3 separate regions of the Homo sapiens genome follow, and regions 1 and 3 are each linked to region 2. The links are contacts of gene promoters, found by promoter capture Hi-C in blood cells and fetal thymus (Javierre and others, 2016). All regions are on one chromosome and are shown on one strand. The core of a region is centred on a gene start or on the middle of the fragment in contact, and the rest is flanking DNA. Distances in the headings are between cores, read along the strand shown. Region 1 overlaps KIAA0753. Region 2 holds the start of DHX33 (DEAH-box helicase 33). Region 3 overlaps KIAA0753.

Region 1 (4,429 bases), core at 214-2,713, 1.1 Mb before region 2:
AACTCTAAGTCAAGATAATTATGAACTATAAAACTATATAGATCTCACCAACACTGTCTTAGCTGCAGGGAGCAATTAGGATAATGTTGATGTTACTGTCTTGTCATCCTCACTCATAGCACATTAGAATGAGAAGCTGCCATTTCACAGGGCTAGAGAGAAGAGGAGCAGGGTCCAGTTAGGTGGAAATAATCTTTAGGGGAATCGGTTGAAGATAAAGGGGAGCTCGTTTGCCGTGAGGCAGTAGTTTTTGAAAACACAATGGAAAGGACCAGGAGGTGGAACAGAAAAAGGAAAGAAGTAAAAAGCAGTCATGTCAGGGGAGAAGGGAGAAGATAGGTGACTACAGGGTTCTGTCTTTGGAGCCATCAGAAGTCAGGGTGAGCAGCTTGGTGGAAGAGAAGCCCCCTAAGATTCCGAATGAGTGTGAAGGAATGGCCGTGCTCATCCATCCACTCTCATTTTCAAGTTAAGGAAACAATGTTTAGAGAATTTAATGTCTTATTCATGTAACAGCCAGACCTAAAATCAGGTCTTCTGACTTCATAATGTGCTTTTTTTGTTTTTATTACTCTATTCTGTTTTCTGTATTTTTGTATACAAGTATTAATATGGAGATTTACATTCAGTTGATAAGCTCAGTGGTTGAAGTTTGTATTACAAACCAAATATACAATGGACTGTCTTTTAGAGTGCATGTGTGGTGGGTAGAGGAGGGTGGGTGAGGCTTCTAGGCTCAACAGTGCTGTTAGGCCTTATAAAGATACGGAGTTGCCTTATAATATGGAATGTAATTAGTGATCCAAATCTATGTATTGTGACAGAGTTTTGTTGACACTCACCCAATATTCTGTAATTGATCACTGTTTCTCATTTAAAATGGTGATGGCTTCTTTGAAGCAAAGGAGAATTTCTGCCCTTTGACACTGTGCCTGAGTGCGGGAGGATCTCACTTTTCTTCACATTCAGCTTCTACTGTAGGGCCCCGTGCTACAGATCACCATTAATTTAATGCTGTTGTCATCTCTGAGCTGGCACCTACTTGGATGAGTCATTGGATACGGAGTGAATGATGACAAAGGTATGCTTTTCCATTTATTTCAGTGCTGCATGGCTAAAGGTGAAAACTAGCCCCAGAGATGCCACAAAAGAGCCTCTCCAGCAAGAAGATCCTCAAGAGGAAAGTCACCTGACAGGTGCTGTTGAGCATGAAGCAGCCAGGTTTGTGCTGGTATTTTTCAGATCTTTGAGAATTAAAGAGCTCCTTTTACATAGACTTGGAAGTGAACCCTTTCTTCTCTTTCCTACATTTAAAGTTGGTTATTTAAAATGTAGATTATTTTTAAAAATAGAATAAATACATAAAATGTAGTTTATTAAACGTTTCAGTCAAACTATATAGCTTATAGTGAGCTCTTCTATTTTTTCTTATTCATTCATAAATTATATATGTGTCAATTATATATCACTTGCTAGTTTTGTATGTGACAGTGTTATGAGCTCTATGGAGACTTTAAAAAGGGCAAATAGGCCATAATCCCAGCCCTTGCTTATTTATAGTCAATAGAGAAGTTATGTAATTAACTATAATTTAAGATAGAACACGGTATGTAACCTAGGAACTGAGAGAGTTTAGAAACGGGGGAGGGTTACTTCTGGCTGCAGAGGTCTAGGCTTCATGGATGGAAATTAAACTAGGACCTGAAGAACAGGCAGGATTTCAATATGGGAGATGAGGTGAGAACATTCCATAAGAAGAGAACAGTGAGAACAGGTTTCTCTGTATTCATTTGGCTGAAATTATTCTTACAGTTATGGGAAAACAAAAATGAAAGCGGTCCATTAAATAATTTGACAATATTCATATATCCTAAACCAAAAGAATCAAAGCACTTTTACATACAGCAGAGTTGTTCACAGTTAACTTTTCCCTTTTGTTTTTATTTGACTTCACCATGCCTATATGGCTCCTGGGGGCTCATTGTTTGTCTCAACTTGAAGATATAGCAATGGTTTTGTTTGAGTCTAATAAGAAACCCCAAGTCTGAGTGATAGCTGGTTTTCTTGAGAACGTTTGAGACAGGTTCTCATTGCGTTGTGCATTAATGTTTTTTGACATGGAACACGTTCTAGAGAGCTTTAGGGGTACGGAGAGATTATGTTACCTACTGAGTAGCTTAATAGAGCCTGGATTGGTGCTCTGCTCTGCAGTGGTCCTGATTTCTGGTCTGTTTCTGTGATGATGACACCCTGCAGTGTCGAGGCAGAATTGGTTTGACTCTTTTGACTGTCTGCTAGGCTCGCTTGGCTTGATGCTGAAACTTCCAAAAGATTGAAGGAACTAGAAGAGTTAAAAGCCAAGGAAATTGACAGCATGCAAAAACAGAGGTAAATATTTGCTTCTGAGTTAGGAAAAGGTAAGCAGGCCTATTCTACATCTCTATACATTAATGATAAATAGAGATTATTTAGGTCTAGCTACACTTCTGCCTCCTTAAAAGACTGAAGTCACTTAAGAAGCCAAGGGGGGAGCCAAGACTGGAGCTCAAGGGAGCCCTGACTCTGCCTTGAGGAGAGTTGGGGTGACTCTTGATACTGTTCTCTAGGCTTGATTGGCTTGATGCTGAAACTTCTAGAAGAACAAAGGAACTGAATGAGCTCAAAGCTGAAGAAATGTATAGACTCCAACAATTGAGGTATGTGTTTGCTTCTTAGGAAGAATAGTGGATGTTTGCCTGTTCTAATTGATCTAGATAGTTCTAGCAACCAACCTGGACTGTTAAGGCCTAACTTCATTACATGAATGAATGAATAGCTGCATGTCTACCTGTATATTATACCATATTTTTTTGCTAGGAAATGCTTCTTTTGTGTGGAGTTTGAAGGAGAACTGAAAAAAATCTGTAATTGTAGAGAAGTTCTGTCTGAAAGATCAGAGTCTTATGTGTATTTGTTTGGACTACCCTCAAAGGTACTTTTCTCTAGCCAGATGTCAGTCCTTCTAAGGGCAGAAGATGAGTATGATGCACATACATGTTCTGCTCATGTGAATCAACATATAGCTACTTTAGTTTCGTATGTTAGCTTGAGTGCAGGCTATGGTTTTCAAATGCGGTTCCCTTTTTCTATTCACTCCATAAGTGTTTTTTAAACTATAGGCACTATAGACATAAAGAAGCTTGTTAAAAGATTTAGTTCAGCTGCTGCTGCAATTACCTCATTTTTCCAACTCTGATAATAATTCATCCTATAGTCACATTAACAGAACACTCATTGAAACATCTGTGCATTCTGTCACCATTCATGATGGAGTGTTCAGTCTCAGGTTAGAAGGGCTGTGGGTTTATCATTAGAAGGCCAAGACTTTTTGTCTGTAGTAAAGATTTCAAGTCATACAATCCCAGAATCTTGGGATTTGAAGGATCTTTTCCCCCCAACTGAGGCTTTTGGCTCCTCTCTACTATCTCCACCAAGGAACTGTCCAGTATATTTACACACACCCTCTGTGATGGGATAGTCACTACTGTCAGAGGGAATACATTTCATGGTCATTTATAGCTAAGAAGGTGTGACCTCAGGCTGTGTTGAAGTTTGGTTCTCTGTGACTCTTACCCACTTGTCCTTTGGGCCATATAGCAAAAGCTTCATCCTCTGTGTCCCGTTTATTCCTCTGTGTGTTTTTACTTCAGAAATTAAACATATCACACATATAGAAGAACATACTGAATGCACATGTGCAATCCAAAATATTACAGAATGAACATCCACGCACCACCATCGTAAGTCAAGGAATCGACCGTTGCCACTGCTGCAGAAGTTTCCAGTGTATCCCTCCTCAGTTGCATCCCCTTTCCCCCGAGAGGCAGCCACTGTCCTGATTCTTGTGTTGATCTTTTCATTACTCTTCTTCATAAATCTGTCAACTATGTGTGTATCCCTAACAATATCTTGTTTAATTTTGAAAACTGAGAAACAGGCACAAATCTAGCTGAACATGGAAAGGGCAGTGTTTCTGGTAGTATCAGATGAAGACTCCTAGGGGAAGACAGGTTGAACAGAGCCTGGATCCTAATCTGATTTGTGCTTTCATGAGAGTTGTAGGTGCCCCTCTCAGGAGGTCACTGAGCAGGGTCGGGAGTGAGTCCTGCACACACAGGGCGTCCTCCATCTGGAGGGCCTGTCGGTGAGCCAGGTCCACTGGACTTCGGGAGGAAGCCTTGTCAGGAGAGGGGCTGCGCTGTAATGCACGGCTTCTCAGCTCTTTCTGGTCAGCTACTGTGGGGATGGGATGACTATCCTTAGCAGACAGCAGGTCTGCAGTGAGTAGGAGAAACTTCATCAGCAAAGGGGCAAGACAAGCCAGGAATCTAGGCTTAGACCTCCCATTTCCCATATTGTGTTGTAATCTTCTTCAGTTTACTTGCTTGTT
Region 2 (4,515 bases), core at 1,113-3,612:
CATGTCTTAATTTTTGTATCCACCACAGTGCCTAGCACAGTGCTTGGCACATGGGTGCTGAATAAATACCTTTGTTTATTGATCAGCAAAGTATTATCTGGTATTTTTAATTATAGAGGGATTAAAGTGTATGCATGCAAGCTTGAGCCTAGTTGCTGAAGCTTGTGGTTGTCTCTGAAAGTGGGATAGAGGGAAACTGAACATGATCAAGGGCAGTAATTTGGTGGTCGGAAAAGCAAAGGTGACCACCAGCTGTTATGGTCGTGATCAGACCAGTTAAGTCCACAGACCATCCCAGACAAGTTAAAAATGAAATGTGTCTGACACTTCGTCGTTTGAAGGAAGAACCAGGATATTCTCTGAATAGTTATTAGCTTGTCAGTATCTACATATGAAAGCTGGTGAACCCCAAGAGACTTCTTCAGGAGAAACAGCAGATTTCAGTCTACCAATGGGAGAAATGTGAGCAGCATGGCTTGATGCATATATAGGACTTAATTTTTCCACTCTTTGGTCCTCTTAGCTTTGAGGCTATAGAATAGCTGGATCATTAGGCCAGAGATTATGGATGAGTTACCTACAGATTTGTTACCTACCTATGTGCTTTGTTTTGACAGTACTTTTTTTTTTTTTAAGTTTAAACCTGTATTTAACATTGACAGATAAAAATCTTCACTTTTGGCTTTTCTTGAGAAAATTGGAAGATCTGGCAATAATAGGTCTACATGACAGCCATTGCCTAGAAATGATTAGGGGCTGCATGTAGAGGTGGAATGTGCTCCATCAAGAAATAAGTCCACCCATTTACATTACCTAAATTATTGTAATCATTTGGAACATCGGACTCCTACCTTAAGTTACTCTGGAAAGCACACTGGGAAAAAGGACTGGGATGTCTTTACTCAAAGTCCATAATTTGAGAGTTAACATTTATTATCCCTTGTAGTTTTGGGTTGCCTTTCTAAATATTTCAGGGTAGGAAGTGAAAATTTGTCAGTTTATTCTTAAACACAAATCTGCTGCTGGTTCAACGTGCACATTTTCAGTAATGCCTGGTCACCAAACTGTCAGCAACTAGAGGAAAATTATCTCCGACCTGGAGCAAAGGGGAGGTTTTTTGTTTTTAGACTAGCTCTCTCACGAATCACGGGAAGGGAGATATTTAACAGGGCGAGTTTCATGGAAACGAGCTTCAGAAGATACCCTTCACATGAGCTGAAGCTTACGGTGTATTCTCTGGAAATCACATTTCCTGTAAGAGCAAACAGCTACTTGGCATTCTCCGTGGTAAATTAGCAAATCATCTAAGAACTTTTAGGAGGGTAAGGAAGAACTAGTTATAATCCTACTTTTTTCTGCTGCAGTTCTGAATCTTCACTGAAGTGTCTGTGATGGGGTTGCACAGCCATGTAGAGAACTTGAGAGTCTGGCTGGAATGGTTGGGGGAAAGGAAAGATAAAAGACAATTTTAATTTCATTGAACTCCCTCCTTTCTCTGCTTGTATTACTGGAGGCGACCACATCCGTTGGAGGAGTCATTTTCTGAGTTAAATTCATGTATATCAGAATTGGTTTTCCTTTCTGTAACACAAGATGATCACAAAATTATGATTTGGGGACATCTGAATGACTAAGATGACTCAATTTCTTAATCTGTAAATTAGAGATAATCTAATAACCAGTATATACCACATAACTTATAAGTTGTTTAGAGGATTAGACAATGCACGTTTGCGCTTCTCATTGATTTTACAGAATTAAGTACTTTCCTTGAAGAGTGACTGTTATTTGGACAGAGAAGGGGAAAACGCGGGTTTACTGAAAAGAAGTAATGCTACTAGAACAAAACAATGGGCGGGGCGCGGTGGCTCACGCCTATAATCCCAGCACTTTGGGAGGCCGAGGCAGGCGGATCACCTGAGGTCGGGAGTTCAAGACCAGCCTGACCAACATGGAGAAACCCTGTCTCTACTAAAAATACAAAATTAGACGGGCCCCGGTGGCGCACGCCTGTAACCCCAGCTACTTGGGAGGCTGAGGCAGGAGAATCGCTTGAACCCAGGAGGCGGAGGTTGCAGTGTGAGCCGAGATCGCGCCATTGCACTCCAGCCTGGGCAACAAGAGCGAAACTCCATCTCAAAAAAAAAAAATAAAACAATGAGAAAAACCTCGTTAACCAAGACTACAGTCCCACGGAACCTTACATCCTGTGTTTCCCGGTTGTAGCTCCGGGCCTTTTCCTGGTTGTACCTCAGGCCCTGCTTTTCCCACCCCCAGGAAGTGAAAGCCTTCCCAAGCCCCCAAGGCATGCTGGGAGATGCAGTCCCTTTTTCTAAAGACTGGGGCGGCCGTGAGGTCATCGGTGGTCGCCGGGAGCCGCCAGCACGTGGCGGCGAGGAAGGGGCGGTGTGCTCCTGTTGTCTGCACCTGAGAGGGGGCAGGAGCTCTCGGCGCTTGCGCCTCCCGCCGCGGTGCCCTCCCGACATGCCGGAGGAGGCGGGCTTCCCGCCGGCCAAGAGATTCCGGCCAGGCTCTGGACCTCCGAGCCGCGCTGGGTCCTTCCCTCCCGGGAGGCAAGTGGTGATGCTGCTGACTGCGGGCAGCGGCGGCAGAGGAGGAGGAGGAGGCCGGAGGCAGCAGCCGCCCCTGGCCCAGCCCTCGGCCAGTCCCTACCCTGAAGCTGTGGAGCTGCAGCGCCGGAGTCTGCCCATCTTCCAAGCGCGGGGGCAACTGTTGGCCCAGCTCCGAAACCTGGACAACGCGGTCCTCATCGGTGAGTGGCCGCGCCGGCGGGCTCTTCCTTGCACTTCGTCCGTGGCTTAGCTAGAGCAGTTTTTCTTACATGCCTCTCAATCCCTTTCGTTCGTGGCTTCAACAAACCTGAATACCTTTTCTGGGCCAGACCTGGAGAGGGGCCTCGAAGAAGAGTCCGGCAGCCCTGCCCTGGAGGCGCTGGACAGCCCGGTGAGAGTGACCAACGTGTGTAGGCAAAGACTCACCTTCCGCGTAAAAGGGTAGAGAAACGTACCGGGGGCTTGCGGATCTTAGAAGAGTGGATCTGACCCGGTTTGTGAGGAGGCGGCTGGGGAGGTCGTGTGGGAGGGAGGGCATTCTAGGCAGGGGGGAAAGCCCGTTTGAGAGATGGGAACCTGAACACATTCCGGTCGAAAGGGAAGGTGTAGTTTCTGGTGCATGAAAAGAGGCAGAGTTGTGGGGCAGGGACTGATTTCATGGGGCTTATGATCCCCAACGTGTTAGAGGAGATACTGAAGGACGGAAAGGATGAGCAGCCAAAGAGAGGAAGGAGACCCATGAGTGCTGCTAGTCAAAGGAATAGAGAGTGAGCAGATGCAGCAGTCAAGTCCGGTTATACTGGACTTGGATGTGATGCCCACTGGATTTGGATGTGAGCTATTTGTAAGAGTTAAAGAAAAAGGAAAGAAACACGAAACGCGGCTGGCAGTTAAAGACAGCTTTTCTTTAGTTAAAACCTGAGAGGCGCTCCTGGCCGATTTCGGTCAGGAGCCCTTTCTCTTACAGACTAAGAGTATATATTGGTGTTAGGGTGAGGGGGCTTATCACAAGCTTGGAATGTTTATATGTGTGGAGAAGTTTTTGGCAGGGTTGGACTCTTTGGGAGCAGGGGATGTTATCTTGGGGCAGACATTTTTCCGGCCCGAGGGGGTTTATCTCCCGGCTGGCATATTCCCGGCTGGCATATTCCCGGCCAGAGTGGGGTTATCCCTTAACATGTCTCTGGTCGGGGAGGAGTTTGGAATGTTTCTGGCTGGAGATGTTATTTGTGGTTTATGGTCGTGCTGACCTTAGCCATTAGGCTGATACCTTTTGGATTTAGGCGGTTTTTTATTAAGGTGAACTTTTGAATGAGGGGCTTGTCCAAGATGGTGATGTTCCTGCTTTGTCAATCCAGACCCTATAGTTATAAAAAGGAGGAGGGACGGCATGTTCTTTCTGGCTACTTCCTGCAACGAGGGGATGGAGAGTTTCCTGGTCTCGGGTTGACTAGGAGCAATGCCGTCTGTAGATGTTTTTGGGTAGTTGTTTGTGAAATTGCCATGATCCTGTCAGTTAAAAATCTTTGAAAAAGATTAATTAGGCAGGGTAAGAACATTAGTTCCAGGCATATTATTAGGAGAGGGCCCAGGAATGGGATGACCCATGCTATGATTTTGTTTTCAAACCAAGAGTCCATTTGGTGGTTTTGGTACTCCCTTAGCTTTTTAGCCTTTTCTTTACGTTTTTTAGCAGCGCTTTTTACTAGGCCCGATTGGTTGATATAGAAAGAGGCGTGAGCCACCGCACCTGGCCCCCTCAAAACAATTATTTAACCTTTTAACGTAGGTAAAAATGTGCATTCTTATCCCTCCTGATAATCTTTTTACCGAAAGTGTACTTTACTTTCCTTACACACCTTGCACATAAAGTGTCTCTTCAATAGTTTTAAATACATGTTACACTGTTAACTTTTAGCAACCTTTACCTTTGTTGAAAACC
Region 3 (4,731 bases), core at 707-3,206, 1.2 Mb before region 2:
TTTCTGTGTCTGTCTGCCTATATGTCTGTATTAAAACTCACAAGTTCACACAGGTATCTCCAATTCAAATCCAACACTACATATTTCCAACTCCCTTGTCCCAGAGCATGAAAGCTGGCTATCATTATCCACAATATATTTACTTTTTTGCTCAGTTCTGGAATGTACAAAAGGTAGTTTCTGAATTGTAATCCGTGTCTCTGCTCAAGAAGAAGCCTGCAAAATTAGAGTTCAGTATTTGTTTAGAGTACATCTGTCTTTAGCCTGACGGCATATAGTCCAAATGCTATATTCAAAAGTTACTGGGGTTAATTTTTTTCATCTTCACTTTTTAGCGTGGTTATGTTACTTATCTGAGATTCAGTTTGGTTCATTGGTTTCTGTTGGTATTTATTTGGGGGTTTTCCACTATCCTTATGGATTTTTTTTTCCTTCCTTTCCCTCTTCCTCCCTTCATTCATTCATTTCTTTCTTCCTGTCTCTCGTGTATATGTGAAACATTAACATGGTTCCAAATATACAAAAAGGTATATTCAGAAAAGTTATCTGCTACCCCATTCCCTCTGTCCTTTCCTTCCTATTCCTACCAGTTCCCTGTAGATAACTAATCTCATTAGTCTCTGATTTTTGTTTTCTGTTTCTTTTTGCACAAGTGATTCAGATGTATATATATTTTCTCATGTCTTCTTTTCTTATATGAAGGGTAGTGTATTATAAATATACTTTTTGCGCATAGTGCTTTCTGCTGAACAATATATTCCAATCTCTCCACATTAATTCATAGAAGTGTCACAGAGATCTTCCTCATTTTTGTTTTATATCTTCATTTTACTCCAGTTTGTGGATAGACCATTGTTTACTCAGCTACTCTCCTTCATGGGGACTCAGATTGATTCTAATAATTTACAGTTACAAACAATATAGCAGTGAGTAACCCTGTACATGTTTATTGTTGGAGGTGTGTCTACAGGGTAAATTCCTAGAAGTGAGACTCCTGGGTCAAAAGTTAAATGTGATACTTGTCCTTCAAGTTGCCTGCTTGGGTCTCTTTCAAGTGTCTTTTCTTTCTTTCCTGTGCTAAATCTTTTTAATTAAAAAAAAAAGTGATGAATGCATGGTGTTTTTGTTAGCGATTGCCAAATTCCCCTCCATAAGAATTATGCCAATTTGCATGACCACCAGCACCTCTTCTATGAGGGCGCCTGCTTCCCACAGCCTCACCAACAGCATATATTGCTATACTTTTAAATTTTTGCTAATCGGTTGGGTAAGAGATGGTATTTCCATGTATTTTTAATTTGTGTTATGAGATTGAACATCTTTTTATGTACTTAAGGACCTCTTTTTTGGTAAATTGGTCATATGTTTTTCCCTGTTTTTATTCAGTTTTGATCTTTTTATACTTCAATAATTATTATTATAATTATTATTATTATTTAGACAGTGTCTTCCTCTGTCACCCAAGCTTGAGTGCAGTGGCTTAGTCTCAGCTCGCTGCAACCTCCACCTCCCAGGCTCAAGCGATTCTTGTGTCTCAGCCTCCTGAGTAGCTGGGATTACAGGCATGTGCCATCACGCCTACCTAATTTTTATATGTTTTTTAGTAGAGATGGGGTTTTGCCATGTTGGCCAAGCTGGTCTCAAACTCCTGACCTCAAATGACAAACACCGTTCATCAGTCTGTGTATCTTTCAGATGGTACCTATTTGTTTTTTCTTTAGTGAGCTTTCTAACTACTTTTTAAAAATCCGAAATACTTCCCTGAAGTTTTGTCACAATTGATTATTTTTAAGTGACTCTTGATGCCTGTAATTATATAAACACATTGATTGTGAGAGCAGGGGAGGCCATCTCCAAGGTCACGGCATCACAGGACTGGGTTCATTGAATTTGTAGGCATGGATTCTCCTCAGGCTATTGACCGGTCTTTGACAGGTTCATTCTGGTAGGCCTAAGGAGGGTACATATTTAAAGCCATAAAATCGTTTCTTTCCTTTAACCTGATAATCCCAGAACAGATCATTTATCCTAAGGAAATAATTTTAAAAGGTTAAAAAACTAAATGCATGGAGACATTAATTGAGGTAATATTTCTATTAGTGGAAAAACTGGAACAATCTAAATGTTTAATATTAACATTATAGTTAGGCATGAAAAGACCATTCATTGGATTTTGGAAAATGCAACAATGATAAATAAAAGCTGTAGGGATATAGAAACATGTTTATGTTTAAGTGCAAAACGAAACAAAACTTGTATTTATTATGAGGAAAACTGACAAAAACTTGAGCCTGTGTAAGAAAGCATAAGCGGACTGTTTCAAGTGAGATACACTTAGGGGCAGGGTAAAAGATGGATCCAGCCACCAAATGAAGTCTCAGGAAGACCTGAAGAAGTACTATCAGATGGCTTGGATCTATCCGTGGAGCAAATTTTAAGAAAGCTTCAATGGGTTATATTGGTCACTTGCTGGGGCCTGACATTTTGAAATAGGACAGAAGTCCATAACTGGGAAATTGAAGGACTTAGTGGTTGCTGCTTGAAGCTTTCTGGGTTTACTTTTAGAGATGGTTCCCAGTATGACATTAGTAAACAGAAGGATAATAGTATGGGACTGGATGATTATAGGATAGAACCAGGGGTATGTGATGAACCCAAGGGTGTAGGAGCGTGGCTGTGTCTATCAGTAAAACAGAAAAATGCCTCTTAGCACTAATGATCTGGTGGCAAAATTTTAGAAATTTGATTATAGACATATACCAACTGTGCAATATGAAATTTTTCTGATGTCTGCTTACTTTTATTTGCTTTTTAAAGAACCAGCTGCAGTTTAATAGGAATGTTCCTACACATTCAAGCAACTTGGCGATCCGATATTCTTGCCCACATGCCATTAGAATTGAAAAACTGAAGCACTCATACAATGAATCATACCATTGTAAAGATGCAGATTGTAGAGTTGGTCCTGACCTGGGCAGTTCTGTTTCATTTTCCGTCATATCCCAAGAGAGACTTAGCTATGCTGTCCACCTAGCCAGAAGAGATGTGAAACGAAGACAATTTGAAAAACATATAAAAGAACATCATCTCAGAAGTCAGCCTCAAAGCTCTCAGAAGTGTGGACATACTAAGTATAAAATACCCGACCACAGGGTGGAAAGGAAGGAATCAAAGAGTCAAGCAGCCTGTCAGTGTAGCCACCAGCCATCCAAAGTAGAAATCTCCAGCTCTGGTGCCAAAGTATACCTTTACTCATCTCATCCAGGCCAGTCAGATCTTACTGTGCCAAATTCGCCACCCACCCATGATCCGGGACTTCAGCCTCATCCCAGGATAGGTGACCACAAAAACATAAGTGAACAGAAAAGCCTGCTAGAAGTCCAGCGACTCCAGAAAGAACTGAGCAGTTGTATCCACAAAATTGAAGAGGTAACTAAAAAAGGTGAGAAAAATTAGATTCTTTACTTCGACCTAAGGCTGTGATTATGGGGTAGTTTAAATGCATTCCTTGAGGACCCTCAACCCCTATAGCAATTTCATTCTTTCCTTCTGTGAGTTGGTTCACTGGAGTGTGAGTACTCAGGACAAGACAGTTAGGCTTGGAGTTTGAACAGTGTCTTGCCCCAGCTCCTCTTTCCAGCGGAGGGACATGAAAGAACTTCTTCACTGTGGCTGCCCTTCAAATGTCCACTGACTGAGGGCCCAGCCTACGAGGTGGCATTAATGTTGGCTGAACCTTAGGTCTTCTGGGACCTGAGTGCAAATTATCCTATAATGTTTTCCCTCTTCTGGGAAAATTATTTTTCAATTTGCTTGAAAAGAGAGCATAATGTATTTATATTATAGGTAAAACCAGTTCTCACTTGGGCAGTATTTAGGTGAGTACACACCAGTGACAAGGGAAGTTGTGGGTATATGTGTAAAGTGAGCACAGGGTAGGAAGGAAGGAATTTAATCATCATATATGGTTTTCTACAGTTCTGCAGTGTTCTCAGGGCCCTTGTATTTCCCTGCTGAGTAGAAGACTGGTTCCACGTGGAGAATTTGGGGTTACCGTAACTAACAAGTAGGGAACCAAGCCCAGCTTTCAGATTGCAAGGGGTATGGAGTTGAGCATCAAAAGAAACCGTTGCACTAGGGTAGTACATAGTCTAGAATTATTTTTTGCATTTTCAATTTAATTAATATATGCATATGTACCTATATGCATCTTATGAAAGAATTTAAGGTACCTTAAGAAATACCTGTGATTGAATAAGATAAAACAAAAATGCACATGAGGATATTGTGGCAAAGGAAACAATAAGGAAAGGAAAAACATTTACTAGGGATGAGTCACAGATTTGCTTCTGAGCTTCCTAGGAGCCAGCTAAAGAGGGAACGTCAAATCACTTGGAGAATTTACAAAGTCTAAGACAGAAAAAAACAATTGTGTAAGGAAAACAATTATTCCACATATTAAGGCCAGAAAGAAATTTCTCCTGTAGGTCTTCTTAAAGAGTGTGTTGTATAATATCATGAACAATTCAAAACCATTCCAGCATAAAAATAACAGAAATGTTGTGGCTTGTTTCTCTTGATATTCCTTAGTGTCAGCCTGTGGCATGGACCCCTACCTACTTTGATTGGAAGCCCTGCGACCAGGGGAACAAAGCCACAAGGCCCACTGCTCTGGTGATCTGGCCTAATACCGGGGAACTGTTAGAACAGAGCTTTCAAAGTCTCTGTGGG

The links. Contacts are between HindIII fragments. The CHiCAGO score rates a contact against its expected background, and 5 or more counts as called.
Region 1: a fragment that was not itself captured here is called in contact with the fragment with the promoter of DHX33 in region 2 in 1 of 17 cell types (M1 macrophages); the score reaches 7.3 in M1 macrophages.
Region 3: a contact is called between a fragment that was not itself captured here and the fragment with the promoter of DHX33 in region 2, in 1 of 17 cell types (M0 macrophages). The highest score is 7.0, in M0 macrophages.

Annotation. Positions count from the first base shown.
Region 1 is chr17:6,605,140-6,609,568 of GRCh38, reverse strand. KIAA0753 reads left to right here. Exons shown (of 19, transcript NM_014804.3): 10 at 1,105-1,221; 11 at 2,299-2,388; 12 at 2,607-2,696. Among named protein-coding and RNA genes, the nearest start is that of KIAA0753, 33 kb to the left of the region's middle. The HindIII fragment of the contact is 3,434 bases long and covers 1-3,180 here.
Region 2 is chr17:5,466,829-5,471,343 of GRCh38, reverse strand. DHX33 (DEAH-box helicase 33) reads left to right here and starts at 2,362. Exons shown (of 12, transcript NM_020162.4): 1 at 2,362-2,773. The coding sequence starts at 2,485. It overlaps DHX33-DT (DHX33 divergent transcript), which reads right to left and starts at 2,252. Exons shown (of 3, transcript NR_135644.1): 1 at 2,205-2,252; 2 at 1,350-1,430; 3 at 984-1,252. It overlaps DERL2 (derlin 2), which reads left to right. Exons shown (of 7, transcript NM_016041.5): 7 at 1-90. RefSeq lists enhancers at 2,269-2,338, 2,719-2,938, 2,728-3,310. The HindIII fragment of the contact is 2,364 bases long and covers 1,224-3,587 here.
Region 3 is chr17:6,626,828-6,631,558 of GRCh38, reverse strand. It overlaps KIAA0753, which reads left to right. Exons shown (of 19, transcript NM_014804.3): 3 at 2,818-3,442. Among named protein-coding and RNA genes, the nearest start is that of KIAA0753, 12 kb to the left of the region's middle. The HindIII fragment of the contact is 978 bases long and covers 1,468-2,445 here.